Regions from separate parts of the Homo sapiens genome. Here regions 2, 3, 4 and 5 are each linked to region 1. The links are contacts of gene promoters, found by promoter capture Hi-C in blood cells and fetal thymus (Javierre and others, 2016). All regions are on one chromosome and are shown on one strand. Each heading gives the region's core, a stretch centred on a gene start or on the middle of the fragment in contact. The rest is flanking DNA. Distances are from core to core; before and after follow the strand shown.

Region 1 (2,700 bases), core at 95-2,594:
ATTGGGTGCTGTAGAGAGCTATGAATAAGTTTGGATAACAGAGAAAGCCCATTGCTGGGTGAATGCCCTAGGGAGTAAAGTCCCGCATTTGGGCTAGGAGTGGTGGGGCAGGAGGGGCCCTGTGGGGAGCTTTGCCGGGGTTGGGTTAGAACTCTGGGTCGATCGTGGGCCTGGATTCTCTACCTGCCCTCACAGGGTTGCCAAATCCTGAGATTAGTCTAAAACCTCTCCGACCTTCCAGGAATGAGGCTTTCTGTAGTCTAGGCAGCTCCCGCCCTCCCCCAGGATTACTCCAGATAGGAAAAAACACCCTTTCCTCCTGGGTCAGTACCCGCGGCCTGGATGTGGTGCTGACTCTGCACAGGAAAGTCCTTTAGAGACAGAGGCTGCCTGGAAGCCTTTATAACGACATTCATCTCCTAAAAGGCATTTTGTCTTTTCTTCCGCTCAGGAAAACAGTGTTTGGAGACTAACTAATTAGTCTCCAAAGGTTTGAGCCCATTGTTTGAGTCCGCTGAAGCGAAGAGAATATTAAAAAAAAAAAAAGGCAGGGCTAGATCCTAATCCCAACACCATCTCCATCCCGCCGGTACAACAGGCCAAAGGGTCCAGCTGGGACAGGTGCACTTAGAGGTGAGGAAGTTCGGCGGGACTGGAGGAGTCGGGGAGGGGGACTCGGCAGCACAGATTAAAGTCCCACGATGAAGCCATATAACGAGAAATGCCATCCTCCTAGCCGACTTCGGAAAGACTTTTAGGTGCGGGTGTCCCACCCTGCTTTTCTTCCTCTCCCGATCTCCAGGGCCGGACTCCAGGGGGCTCCGGAGCTACAGGAGGAAAGTCCCCGAGGAAGGAGGAAACAAGTGCAAGAGCATCTCCTGTCTCTAGCGATGCAGACAAGGGGTCTTTGCATCCGCCTGGCGCTCTGCATCGCCTCACAGGATGGGTGGGCTTGCACTGAACCTTGAGTCCTTCCACTTTCCTCCCCCCGGGTGGTGCCCGCCCTGCCCAGGGCAGCGCGGCCCGCCCAGGAGAGAGCGGGGGATCCGGCAGGAGGAGAAGCCCCGCGCCCCGGTCCCGTCGCACGGATCAGGAGGGTCCCCGTCCGGGGAGGAGCCGCCGCGCAACTCGGAGAGCGCCCCCCGCCCGCGGCCCGGCCCGGCGCGGCTCACCCTCCGGTCTCGGCGCCCGAGTCCACGCAGTCGTCCTCCTCGCCGCCGCCGCCCGCCTTTGGGTCCATGGTGCACGTCCCGGCCGCGCTCGGCTTGCGGGCGCCGTCGTGACCCGGGGCGCCCTCCCTCCCGGCCGCCCAGTCCGAGCCGGCCGGGCTCCCTCCGAGCGTCTGGCGGCCCGGGAGCCGGCAAACAACTCAAGCGCCAGCCGCGAACCCCGCGCCGCGCCCTCTCCCGACCGCGCCCGGCTGGGCACCCGCGCCTGCGCCCGCGCCCGCCCCGCCCCTCGCCGTCCGGCGGGACCCGCGTGTGCGCGCGGCGGTGCGCGGGGAGTGCGCGTGCGAGCGCGTGTGCGAGCGCGTGGGGGGCGTGTGAGCGTGAGTGGCCGAGGTGTGTGGTCTCACACCCGTGCGTCTGTGCATGCGGTGTGATGTGGGTGCGGTGTGCACTCCTGGTTGCACGCGACTGTGGCTGTGCTGAGCGCGTGTGCCCGTCTGTGGTGCGTGACCGCGTGTGTGTTGTGGGGGCGGGGTAAGTGTGCACACGAGAGCCGCCTCTCTCCCCCAGGCCCACAGTCCGGGAATCCCGAGCCCCAGGGCTTGCCACGAGGTTCCCCACCTCCTGATCTGGGAGGAGCACTGAGAAAACCAACCTCAGCGCATCGTGAAAGCTGGGAAGGATTTGTTTCCCTTTTGGGACCAATTCGAACACCTGGGTGTTTTCTTATAGTTTCTGAAGAATTGCTGACGCCAAATTCATTATCACCTTTCTCAGTACACGTCTGAGCGGCATCCCACCCCCTCAACTTGCCAGTTTACAATAGGTGTCATGCATTCTTTTGCTACTTAAAAAAAAAAAAGCCTTTAAAAATAATTTAAAGAGCATTGAATGAACCTGCAATTCACGGGTTGTTGCAGCAAGGGGATAACCTTAGGGTGAGTTAATGATCGCTATTGGAGGGGCTCACCTCCTATTAGGAGGGTGAAGAGGGAGGCAAGTTGGCAGGGCGGGCGGAAGGAGACTTCGAACAACTTGAATTTAGTTCTGACAGCCCTATCCAAACCATTGGGAGGAATTGTCCTTACTGAGCCTAAAATTTCTTGCACCCCAAACAGCAATGGACATATTGGTGGGCATTAGCTGAAAGAAAGGAGCGTGCCAGTTCTTCAAGGGAGATTCCCCTGCCCATTTTTTATCTTGCAGCCAGGAGGGAACCTGCCTTTATTTACTCTGTGTGGGAACAATTCAAACTGTGCCTCATTTGATCCTCAGGGAAGTGCTGTGAAACAGGCTTACTTTTCTATTTTACCGTCAAGGAAACTAAACCCTACCGAGTTCGAGTGCCTGGTCCCAGGACACCCTATCAGTGAGCAGGGAAGCCAGGTAGTCCACTTAAGGTAGCTGGAGCCTGTGCCACTTACCTAGAAGGCTGATGAGTGGGCCAGTTGTATCCTCAGGAAGATGGTACTAAGGAAAAGGCCAGGGAAGAAAGGGTGAAATCAGCATGACTTTTAGAAGATGGGCTTTG
Region 2 (2,700 bases), core at 29-2,528, 650 kb before region 1:
CAAGGGTGGAGCTAGCCCCATTGATACCGTTTAAAGGGACAAGATAATTCTTGATAGCACGACGTCTAATGCTGGCACATAAGAACTTAGGACATGGTCCACCCTCCTCGGGGCAATGAGGAATAGCTTTGTTGAGGTTAATAATGTGAGGATGGAGAGAGCAATAGATGAACTAGAGTCAGACCTTGATCATGACACAGCTCCACTCCTTACCACAGCCAAAGTCTCTTCACTGAGCATTGTTCCTTCATCTACAAAATAAGGGGGTTCAACTAGACAGCCAGTGGGATGCCTTCTCTATCTAAACTCTTGCATGAGTCTAGGGATGGCAAGGTGGAGAGGGGTTGGGTGAGTAGCCCCTTTCCTGGAGATAAACCACAGATGGTTTAAACCAGAGAAGACACTGGAGAACCCACTGCATTTCAAAAATATTTCCTTTCCCTTCTGGCAGCTTTGGGTAATTTGGGTAAGCACTTCTGGGTGGAGGCACAGCTCAGGCTTTGCGGGGAAGATGAATTTAGTGGTGAAACAACAGTTATGACAATAGATGCTGTTTCTGGCGCCTCTGAATCTTCTAGTATCTGCATTATGATTTTGGAATAAAAGATGATTCATTTCGAGTCTGGAACTCAGCTAAATGAGCAGGACTCTGAAACACCATAAATGACATTTCTCCCTGCCAGGAGCTCAAAGCAGGGAGACTGAGCCACTCCATAGATATTTGCCTGTGCTTTGTCTTACGAAAGACCCAGGAACTCTCTCAGGAGTTCAGCCTTGCTGTCACAGGTGCTGGCTAAGGGAAGCCAGCTTTGGCTGCTGCTGAGGTTGTGGAGAAATCTATCTGCATTTGTGCTAACAGTATTAATAAAAGCCCAGAAGTTAGGAGATGTTTCTGTGAATGTTATCTGCACTCTATCTGTGAAACAATGCTGAAGGTCAGGTGATTCCCAGATATTAGTTGTACACAGCTTACTTATCCTTAGGTTTCCTTTTGGCTAAAACTCGGTTTCATTCATCTCTGTGCATCTTTGCATAGCGTTTAAAGCACACTCGAGTGACATGCACTGCTGTAGTGCTCTCTCAGAGAGGCAGCCCCATGGGCCTCTTCCCTCCTAGCATTTGCCAGATTTTCCAAATAATGACATTGTGATTGTGTGACTCTCCCGCACTGGACGGAAAGCTTCCCGTAGGCAAGAATTAGCTCGTTCCCAAACATAGCATAGTGTTGGCAAGGCACAGTGGTGATGAATAAATACATAAGTGGATGATGAATTAAATGATTTATGTAGCAAAGGGATGCTGGCTGCACACCTTCTTGTTGGATGGCAGGGAACAAGAAGAAAGGTTGAGTTCACCCAGGTGCTAAACAAGCTTTGAGAACTTCCTTTCCACAGCAGATAAAAGGAGTCTGCAATTGTGGAGGTCTAGAGTACACTTTTCATCTCCCTTCATCCTGAATTTTGTCTTTGGCAGAATCTCTGGGGATTTTTGAATCTGCAGCTTTTCTCTGCACTGGGGTTCCTGCAGTGTGAATACCATCCAATGGCCCACACCGTCCAGGTCTTGAGTGTGGGCCCCTGGCAGCCCTCTTGAAATCGAATTCTCTCCACCCTGCATCCTATTCCCCATGGCTTGCTGAAGTCCTTGCCCTGGGACCCATGGAGAGCTGAGGATGGGTGTGTGACCAAGGAGAAAGCTGCTCCCACTGCTCTCTGACCCTGCTTCCTCTGAGAATCAGAGGACTTGCAGGGAACCCAGACTTTCCCAGCGCCAATTTTTCCATTGGCCATGCAGTAACCCAGGCTTTCCCACAATCTTCTGAAGCCTCAGAGGCCTGGCTGCTCCTGGGAGTCGGCCCACTCTCCTGGCACCAAGGGTATTTGTTCACCCTTGACTTTGTAAAGATCCCTGTCCTCTCCTCTCCCTAGCTCTCCACCCCCAAGCCACTGTGAAATCCTAGTGTACTTTAAGGCTCTCCCAGTATTGACACCACTATCAGCCAAGTCACTTCCCGTGACCCAGGGCTGTATTAGGAAAGGGCCACAATACCAAGAGACAGACACTGTGGGTTTTGGTCCTGGCCCTCCTATTTGCTACTTGCTGAACCACATGCACTCACATTGCTTCTTTAGGTCTCTGTTTCCTCATCTGTACAATGGGTTTATGCACCTTCCCTGCCAGCCCACAGAGCTGTGGTGAAGGTCACATGAGGAGGTGCATGAGAAAGTGCTTGTCTAGTAGTAGGGGACCCACTACGGTGAGGTAAGTTGATGTGTTAATGACAGTGAAGGCCAGGCCTAAGGAAAGGGGGAGCAGGACACATTTGTCGTGGCGTTTCTTACTCCCTTACTCCCTCACTCTGGTCATTTGTGTGGCATTCCCTATAAAGGCCATCTAATCTCCCCACCCCCAGAAGAAAAGTTGGGCACATAAGTTGCTTGACCACATTCATGTACATTCATTCAATGTACTACTCCCTAGGGTATTTTAATTTTAAAATAGATGAAAGCAGGAAGCCCCCCAAAAAGAATGTATAATACAGAAACACAGGGACCATGAGACTTATGTGAGTGGGAATATGTGAGGGCAGGGACAGGGAGCATGCCCATGCATTGCCCAGGCCACTCCATGGGTCAACTTGACTCCCTCATCAGGGGCGTCAGTGCTCTTGGGGGCCGCACTCTTGAGTCTCAGCCCCCA
Region 3 (2,700 bases), core at 137-2,636, 850 kb before region 1:
ACAGGGCATGAATGAGAAAAGCTTGAGAGCACTGTAGAATGGAGCTGAAGTGGAATACTATTGAAGTCAGAAAGTCTAGATAAAATTAAGTTGCCTTATGACCAGTGCTTGACACTGTTAACATGGAGAAGAAATGAAAACATTTCTGTTTTTATCTAACATAGCTCTAGTTTTAAAACTCTATGGATTTATTTGTTTAGTAAACATTTGTTGAATATTTACTATATACCTTGCTAATTAATTTTACTAGGAACACGAAAATATGGTTTTTCTTTCTTTCAAAATATGGCTAATTTATCATGAAACACTGTGGAATTGATTTAGGCAATGGATATACCAAATGAAACTTTGACCTTTGAGGATGGCATGAAGTTTAAGGAATATGAATGTGTAAAGGAGCATGGAGATTATACAGACAAAGCATTTGAAAAACTTCACTGCCCAGAAGCAGGTATGTGTTTCTTGAAAGTTGTAAATGAGAAGGAACTGTTTTATTAGCAACCCATTTTGAACTCTGTCCCCATGCATCTGCCTCGGCTCCACTGTTACTTGACCCCTTTCTGCCCTCTCTAAGCAAGGCAGAAACACACTTATTATTCTCCTGCCACCCATGCAGTGGCCACACTCCCTGAGATCCAGCCCTCCTCTCCTGCTCCATACCCACTCCCTCTTGCAGCTTTGGCTTCTCCCAGGAGCTCCAGACTTACCAGTCTTTCTCATTGTCTTCTGGGAAGCTCCATGGACAAGTGTTGCCAGTATCTGAAACTCAGCTGTGTAAAGTCAAGCTCTTCTGTGCTCTTCCCAGTGACCCTTTATTTTGGTTAGTGTCACAGATGCAACTGGCTGGGGCCAGTGTTGTGGGCAGTAAAAGAATTTATCAACACAATTGTAAGTAAAGAAAGGCAGATTTATTAAAGTACAGAGATACGTTGCAAGAGTGCAATGGGCAGCACAGCAGAGAAGAGGCTGTCTGCTAAGAGGCAGGGGCTAGAGGGAAGTTTTATAGGGTCATATTGGAGGAGCTACATGCTGATAAGGTGTGCAGATAAGGTTTTGCTGCTTGGGCTACATGTGGAAGGAATGAGGTATTTGGGAACAGGATGTGACAGCAGCTTGTCTGTGATGAGTCATCTCTCAGAACAGTTGTTCCCCCATCCCCACCCCCAACCTGGGACCCCTCCCTTTTTGTTGTTTACTTATCTTATGAGAACTTCACAGTCAGTGCTGTCACCAGGGTGCACCCTTAGCATAGTGTCTATTCTGAGATGTCTCTGGAGTCTTCCTCTTCCTTCATTCTCTCTGTTACTGGTTTAGGGCTCTGTCATCTCTCAGTAGTGTGGTGTAGGCTTCAGAGACAGATGGGAATTGAATCTCAGCTGTTGCTGCCACCTTCTGGTTATGTGACCTTTCTTTCACAAGTTATTCCAACACTGAATCTCAGTTTCACCTTAGGAACAGGGGATAATAGTAGTAGGAATAACCACACAGGGTAATTGTGAGGACCAAAGTGAGTTTTGATGTATAAACGACCTGGCACATACTAGGTGCCTAAATTAAGTGCTGTCTTTTCATTTTCCCTTTTCCTTCCCCTTGCTGTATTGCCTTATTTGCTTATGTGACCTTCTTTCTCTAGTATTTCCCCTTCATTCTCTAAATGGTTACTGTATTAGTCCATTTTCTTGCTGCTGATAAAGACATACCTGAGACTGAGCAATTTACAAAAGAAAGAGGTTTAATTGGACTTACAGTTCCACATGGCTGGGGAAGCCTCACAATCATGGTGGAAGGCAAGGAAAAGCAAGTCACATTTTACATGGATGGCAGCAGGCAAAGAGAAAGAACTTGTGCAGAGGAACTCCTCTTTTTAAAACCATCTTATCTCGTGAGACTCATTCACCATCACGAGAACAGCATGGGAAAGATCCGCCCCCATGATTCAACCACCTCCCTCTGGGTCACCCCACAACACACAGGAATTCAAGATGAGATTTGGGTGGGACACAGCCAAACGATATCAGTTACTAAAGTTATCTTGGCATATTATTACTCTGCTCAGATTTTTTTTTGGATAATACCTGCAGAATAAGGTCCATTCCACATATTATCACATTTAACACTACATGGCCTAATTCTGCTGTGACCCACTTTTCTCATCCCAGCATGGCCTCTTTCCTTCCATGGAAAATGGGATCCATACAGCCTGCTGGAATGCCCATTTTCTCCTACAGCTGGAATGCCCATTTTCTCCTACAGCATTTACAGAACTGACTTGGCTCAGTTTCCTCTTCCTGGAATACTCTCTGCCTCATTTCCTTCTGGAAAAATCTCCATTCAGCAGGCATCTTATTGAGGATCTCCTTTGTGCCAAAGACTGCTCACTGGTAGGGAGCTCAAAGATGAATGAAATCTGGGCCCTGTTCTCAATATCACAGAAGTGTTATGAGCAAAAAAGTCACAAAACATGTTTTCTGAGCCTGAAATGTTAATCACTGTTTGAAGTGCGAGCTGGGTGGAGAGTCAGGGAGGTCCGCACTCCTCCAGGGCTTCACATGCCATCATTTTTGTGATTGAGAAGGATCATGCTGGCTGCAGAGCAAAGGATGGCATGGAGGGCAAGACTGAAGGCAGGAGAAGAGTCCAAGTGCATGAGCCAGAGTGGTGCAGGGAGAATAGATACTGAGTGTGGGAACTGAGGAAGAG
Region 4 (2,700 bases), core at 140-2,639, 940 kb before region 1:
GGTCTCTCTGACTCTGGTTGACACGTTATAATGAACACGTTCAGCGCTTACAAGTAAAGGGTAACCAGATGTTGTTCACAGTAATCCTATGAGGTAGGTTCTATACTTTTATACAGAGGGATTTAGTTACTCTGCTGTATTAGTTTCCTAAGGCTTCTGTAACAAACTGTGACAACCTAAGTGGCTAAAACGACACGAATTTATTACCTTACAGTTCTGAAGTTCAGAAATACAGCTCACTGGGTTAAAATCAAGGCGTCAGTGTGCATGGTGGTTTTCCTGTAGTCCCAGCCACTCAGGAGGCTGAGGTGGGCGGATCGCTTGAGCCCGGGAGCTCAAAACCAGTCTTGGCAACATAGCAAGACCCTGTTTCAAAAAACAAAAAAATCAAGGGGTCAGCTGGACTGTTACTTCTGGAAGCTCTGGGGAACAATTTGGTTTTTGTTTTTTGTTTTTCCCTCCTTTTCTAGCTTCTCCTCCTTTTCCACCTCCCACCTCCTCCTTTATATATATATATATATATATATATATATTTTTTTTTTTTTTTGGAGACAGGTTCTTGCTCTGTCACCAAAGCTGGACTGCAGTGGTGGGATCATGAGCCCTCTCCAGCTCTAGTGATCCTCCTGCCCCAATCCCCCGAGCAGCTGGGACCACAGTGCCCGTCGCTATGTCTAGTTAATTTTTCGTAGAGACGAGTGTCTCACTATGTTGCCCAGGCTGATCTCGAACTCCTGGGCTAAAGTGTTCCTCTCCTGCCTCTGCCTTCCAAAGCACTGGGATTGCAAACATGAGACACTGTGCCTGCTCCTCTTCCAGCTTCTTGAGGCCAGCTGCATTCCTTGGCTGTTGCCCCTTCCTCCACCTTCAAATAGCTTTCTCATACTGACCTTCTTTTTGGGCCCCTTCCACTTTAGAGAACCCTTGTAATTACTTTGTAATTACCCAAGCACACACTCCAAGATCGTCACCTTATTTTAAAGTCCGCTGATAAGCAACCTTAATTCCATCTGCAATCTTAACCCCCTCTGCCAAGCAAGAGAACAAACGCACAGGTTCCAGGGAGTAGGATGTGGACATCCTGAGGCGGAAGCATTATCCCGCCTTCCACAATTGCCCAAGGTCACATAGCTAGTAAGTTCTAGCTAGCACTGAGTGCTGTGCCCGTGAAATTTATCTACATAGGCTTTCACTTAACCTGCAGACAGAACTCAGTTAGTCGGGGACAATTTCCCTCAATGTTAACAGCACTGTTCCACCGCAACGTGGAACAACAGCTTTAAAACGTGCTCTTCGTAGGCCCGGCTACTCCAAGAACAGTGCCTCCCGCCAGACCCAGGCGGCTTCCTTCACCCGCAACCCGAGAGACGACCCGCCGGGCCCGCCCCGCGGAAGCCGCCGGTTGCCAGGCCAAGGAGTGGACTAGGGTCGCCGGGGAAGCGGGTGAGTGGTCCCCGCCCTGGCGGGCTGCCTCTAGAACGAGGAGGGCGGCGCGTGGTCGCGGCGCGGAGCCGAGTGGGAGCGAGGGGTAGACGCGCCCCGGACGCGCGGCCGCGCCCCTCACTTCCGCCCCGCGGTCTGGACCACTCGCCGCAAACCCGCAAGTCCCTCGCCGCCTTGGGGTCTGGGCGCGCGGTGCCGTGGGGGTCAGCAGGGCGGAGCGGCTTTTCCAGGAGAAAGGGCCCTCACGGGTGAGCGGGGCGACTGGGCTCCCCCGCGGTGCAGTTGCCCCGCGGGCGCCGGCCCCGGCTCAACGGATTCTTCTCGCTCGCTGCCCGGAAAGAACCAGTGAGAACCGCTGTTGCAGCAAAAAAAGAAGTTAATAAGCGCAGGGCTGGCCAAACCAGAACAGGGTCTCAGACCTGTCTCCCCGAGAATTCGGGGGCGAGGGTTTTAAAGGGCATTTTGGCTTCGGGGGGCTGGGGAACTGAAACAGTTGACCGGCTGGGGATGAAATCACAAGAGCTTCTGAAACTCGGGGCGGCTTCGTTGGTTCCCAGGAAGGGGTGGGGTCAGTTTCCCTTGTCTTGAAGTTTACACGAAATCCCTCTCCCAGTTATCCTAGCCTCTGTGCTAGAATAAGAAAACGACAACACGGTGAAAACTTAGCCCGTGAGGTTAGAAGCAAGATGGAGTCAGTCATGTTAGATTTCTCGCATTACTTATACATCTGTAAAGGTGGTTTCAGGGACCTTTCTGAACTTAGCCCGTATCTCACTGGTGATCCCACTTCTGGGTATTTGCAAATCACTTTATTAGGTTTTTAAAAGTATTGTTGCAGGCATGCGAAGGGGCCGATATACTTTTGCCATGTCCAGAGTGTATTCAGGTCTTGTAATGATCATATGGGTGTAATATTGAGTAACAGGCAAATGTGGGCAGAAAATATCAAATGTGGTTTTCAGCTAAGAAGTCTGGTTGCTCTTAATTTTCAGTTACTCTCCATTGCATAGAATAAAGCCCCGAAGAAACGAAGAATAAGATCATGGGGAAACTTGGCTTCCATGTTAAACCGTGTAATACCAGGTGTTAGAATAGTAGTAAAGGACTTGTTTCTTTCACATCTATATACACTCAAAAGACCTCATCGATCTTGGAAAAACATTGTTTCGAAGACAATGTGTATGACTGATTTGGTTATATGAAGAAATTATTTCTAGGATTTCCTGGTAATTCTGTGATAAACAGTAATACAAACTG
Region 5 (2,832 bases), core at 45-2,544, 570 kb before region 1:
TTTCTGACACGAGCCTTCAGAGCTGCCTCACATTTTGTGGTCTTTCTGTTCTGAAAGAGCTGGAACCAGGATTGGCTACATAATTAGTGGGGCTCGGTGCAAAATGAAAATGCAAGACCCTTGTGTAAAAGTTATTTAGAATTTCTACACAACAAAGGCAGGACATTAAACCAAGCTTGAGGCCTTTCCAGTCGCAGGGCGTGTGCAGCTGTATAGATCATATTCCCATGATCCATCGTGTAGCCATAAGGCTGCCCTGAATGGAAAACCCTGACCCCCAAAAGGACCCTCAGTCATGGCTGCTCGCTCACTGTCACTAAAGAACATCCTCATTCCATTCCTACCTCTTCTCTAGGAGACCCCACAATTGGAGGGCCTGTAGGAGGGAAGCTGGGGAGGGACAGACAGTACCCACCCTCAGGCATGGACCCTGGTCAAAGAGAAGAATGCCCCTCTCTAGGATGGAATATTTTGCATCAACTTTGAAATAACATTTTCACACCAAGTGTCTGTTCCTTTCCCTTTCTCATGGAAATCCCCAGTCTCATGCCATCAGGTGCCTTACAGAGGCTTAGTGCTGGCGGCAAGTGTGAGGGTCTCTAAATCTTCCTCTAATGTCTGCAAGTGCCGCTGCGATCTGCGGGCTGCAGTTCTCGAGATTGAAAGCTGGCTGTCTGCCTGCTGATAACTTTCGGTGGTGCTGCTGCAGGATGCAACAAGAATACTAATCTCAGGCCACGGACAGGAGGAGGTTTGCCTGGATTCCAGCCTGCTGTGGTGTGGGCCACAGGCTTTAAAAAGTATATTTAAATGAAAAATGATGATAATATGGATCTGTTTGGCTTATATCTAATTCCACCATGTTTAGGAGGGGTAGAGAGCTGAAAAGGGGAGCAAGCATGTTCCTGCACTGGGGAGAAAGCAAGCCCTTGCCTACTGCCCCCCTCACCTCCATACAGATACACTTGACGGGATTTGAATGCACACACAGGACATTCACTGCTCTCTCGGGTTTATAAGTGGCCTCCAGCACTCAGAGGTGGAGCGTCCAGGATGAGGGTACCTGTCTGCTTATGCCAGTGTCTGTGGTTTCCCTGACTCAGTGTCTCCTCCAGGCTCTGCCAGGGATCAGCTGTCCCTCCCTGCTTATGAAGAGGCCCCACTCCACAGCTTCATCTGGTCTACCTTTGGTAGGCAGCCCACACACAAAAGCGTGGTATGAAGGAGGGAGTTGGGCTCTGATACGAGTCCTGGTTTTGCACTTTCTGGCCTGTGAGCTTGGGCAAAGTTCTTAGCTTCCCTGAACATTCATTTCCTCATTAAAAAATAGGGGTAACTTGACTTTATTAGTTTTTTAACATGTATTTAAGGGTGAACCGTATGCCAAACAGCTGGAGACACAGTGATTGGGACAGACACAGCCCCAGACAGTCTTGTGCAGGATACAAGTGATTAACAGTTTCCTTGAAGTGTGTGTGCCTGCCCTGGGCCTGGCCGCCATGCTCTGTATCATAGTGGGGGTGGGTTGGGGGACAAATAGTATGAACCCCAAGGTATGTGTTTCTTCAGCTCCTACAACCAGACAGCTTTTGGCTGGGTTTGGCCAATGGCAGTTACTAGAGGAAGATTGCTAGGTGAAAGGAAGGGGGGAATTGAGATATTGGCTTCCCTGGTGATGGCGAATCTCCTCTCTGGTTCTTCCTTCTGGTTCCTGGGCTCAGGCCACACTGCATTCTCCCTTTGTTCCTTGAGCCTAGGGCTGGTGGTAGTTTCCTGTTGTTACTAATCTCTGGGTTACTTCACCAATCCTGGTTGAGTTCTCACCTTCCTTAATCACCTGGGAAATCAATCCCTGCGTTCAGTTCCCTCTGTTGAAAGAGGTGTCTGTTAGATGTTACTGAAATAACATGATAAGGGCTACAAGATGGGAAGCTCAGGGTATCCTAAGAACAAACAGCTCTCAATCAATAGAAGTAGCTACTATTATTATTGTTGGTATTATCATTATTGTTTATACTAATATTATTACCACTCCCAACCTTACATTCTCTGCTTCAAGTGTGTTCTGTTTAATCAGTGCTTAGGCCCTGCTCAGTGGGAGGTGGAAGCCTGCAAGCCCCCAGTAGCAGAAAAGATGTGTGGTAGAGCTGTGAGGGCAGTGGAGCAGCTGGTCCTGCGTGCATGGTTGGGTGAACATCAAAGAAAGAAGGTCCCTTGGGCAGGAGGGTCTGGGTGAGGTGTGCGGCAGGCCAGCTGAGCCAGGGAGCACAGGCACCAGGTAAGGCTCAAGGTCACGTGGGGATCTCAGCTGCTTGTACACGCTGGCTTGGTAAGATCAGGTGTTTGGCCATATAGAGAGGTGAATATCATGCTGAGGTGATCTTTCAGAGAGGTTATGTGTGGCTTAAGCTTGGGGAAAGGAGTACTGGTTACTGTAGAGCAGACTGCTGGCTCACCAGTCCACTGGACACGATGCTCCCAAAGGGCCTAGGGGAGAAACAGGGTGTACCTTTTTCCCCAGGCTTCTGGTTGCAGTTCAGCCCCACCTTAGTACCTGGCTCCAGACTTTCGTCTAGCAGTTATCTCCATGGGTAACATTAAAAAAAAAAAAAACTTCTATTTTATGTATTATTTTTTGAGATAGGCTCTCGGGATTTTTGAGATAGGCTATTTTTGAGATAGGCTTTCACAGTTGGGATTTGTCTGATGTCTTTCTGATGATTACACTGGAGTTATGGGTTTTAGAGGGAAAGATCACAGAGGGACAGGTGCCTGGGCAACATTTTTCAGTCCTGCAGGCCTCCTGATGTGGCTGGAAGGTTCTGTGAAAGC

Evidence for each region. The method cuts DNA at HindIII sites, captures the fragments that hold promoters and counts their contacts. A CHiCAGO score of 5 or more calls a contact.
Region 2: a fragment that was not itself captured here is called in contact with the fragment with the promoter of FAM124A in region 1 in 1 of 17 cell types (total B cells); the score reaches 5.0 in total B cells.
Region 3: a fragment that was not itself captured here is called in contact with the fragment with the promoter of FAM124A in region 1 in 1 of 17 cell types (neutrophils); the score reaches 5.5 in neutrophils.
Region 4: the fragment with the promoter of NEK3 here is called in contact with the fragment with the promoter of FAM124A in region 1 in 4 of 17 cell types (non-activated CD4 T cells, activated CD4 T cells, naive CD4 T cells and 1 more); the score reaches 5.8 in non-activated CD4 T cells.
Region 5: a contact is called between a fragment that was not itself captured here and the fragment with the promoter of FAM124A in region 1, in 3 of 17 cell types (fetal thymus, activated CD4 T cells and naive B cells). The highest score is 8.0, in fetal thymus.

Annotation. Positions count from the first base shown.
Region 1 is chr13:51,221,042-51,223,741 of GRCh38, reverse strand. It overlaps FAM124A (family with sequence similarity 124 member A), which reads right to left and starts at 1,344. Exons shown (of 4, transcript NM_001242312.2): 1 at 1,173-1,344. The coding sequence starts at 1,240. RefSeq lists silencers at 1,396-1,455, 1,576-1,625 and an enhancer at 1,406-2,196. The HindIII fragment of the contact is 7,882 bases long and covers 1-2,700 here.
Region 2 is chr13:51,866,713-51,869,412 of GRCh38, reverse strand. It overlaps a transcript of TMEM272 not described here. Among named protein-coding and RNA genes, the nearest start is that of CCDC70, 6.1 kb to the right of the region's middle. The HindIII fragment of the contact is 191 bases long and covers 1,183-1,373 here.
Region 3 is chr13:52,069,695-52,072,394 of GRCh38, reverse strand. It overlaps NEK5 (NIMA related kinase 5), which reads left to right. Exons shown (of 24, transcript NM_001365552.1): 20 at 325-451. Among named protein-coding and RNA genes, the nearest start is that of UTP14C, 46 kb to the right of the region's middle. The HindIII fragment of the contact is 2,725 bases long and covers 24-2,700 here.
Region 4 is chr13:52,158,286-52,160,985 of GRCh38, reverse strand. NEK3 (NIMA related kinase 3) reads left to right here and starts at 1,389. Exons shown (of 16, transcript NM_002498.3): 1 at 1,389-1,443. RefSeq lists silencers at 1,453-1,512, 1,593-1,702. The HindIII fragment of the contact is 6,327 bases long and covers 1-2,700 here.
Region 5 is chr13:51,794,574-51,797,405 of GRCh38, reverse strand. The region is part of intron 2 of DHRS12 (dehydrogenase/reductase 12); the gene reads left to right. Among named protein-coding and RNA genes, the nearest start is that of DHRS12, 8.2 kb to the left of the region's middle. RefSeq lists an enhancer at 1-353. The HindIII fragment of the contact is 2,234 bases long and covers 178-2,411 here.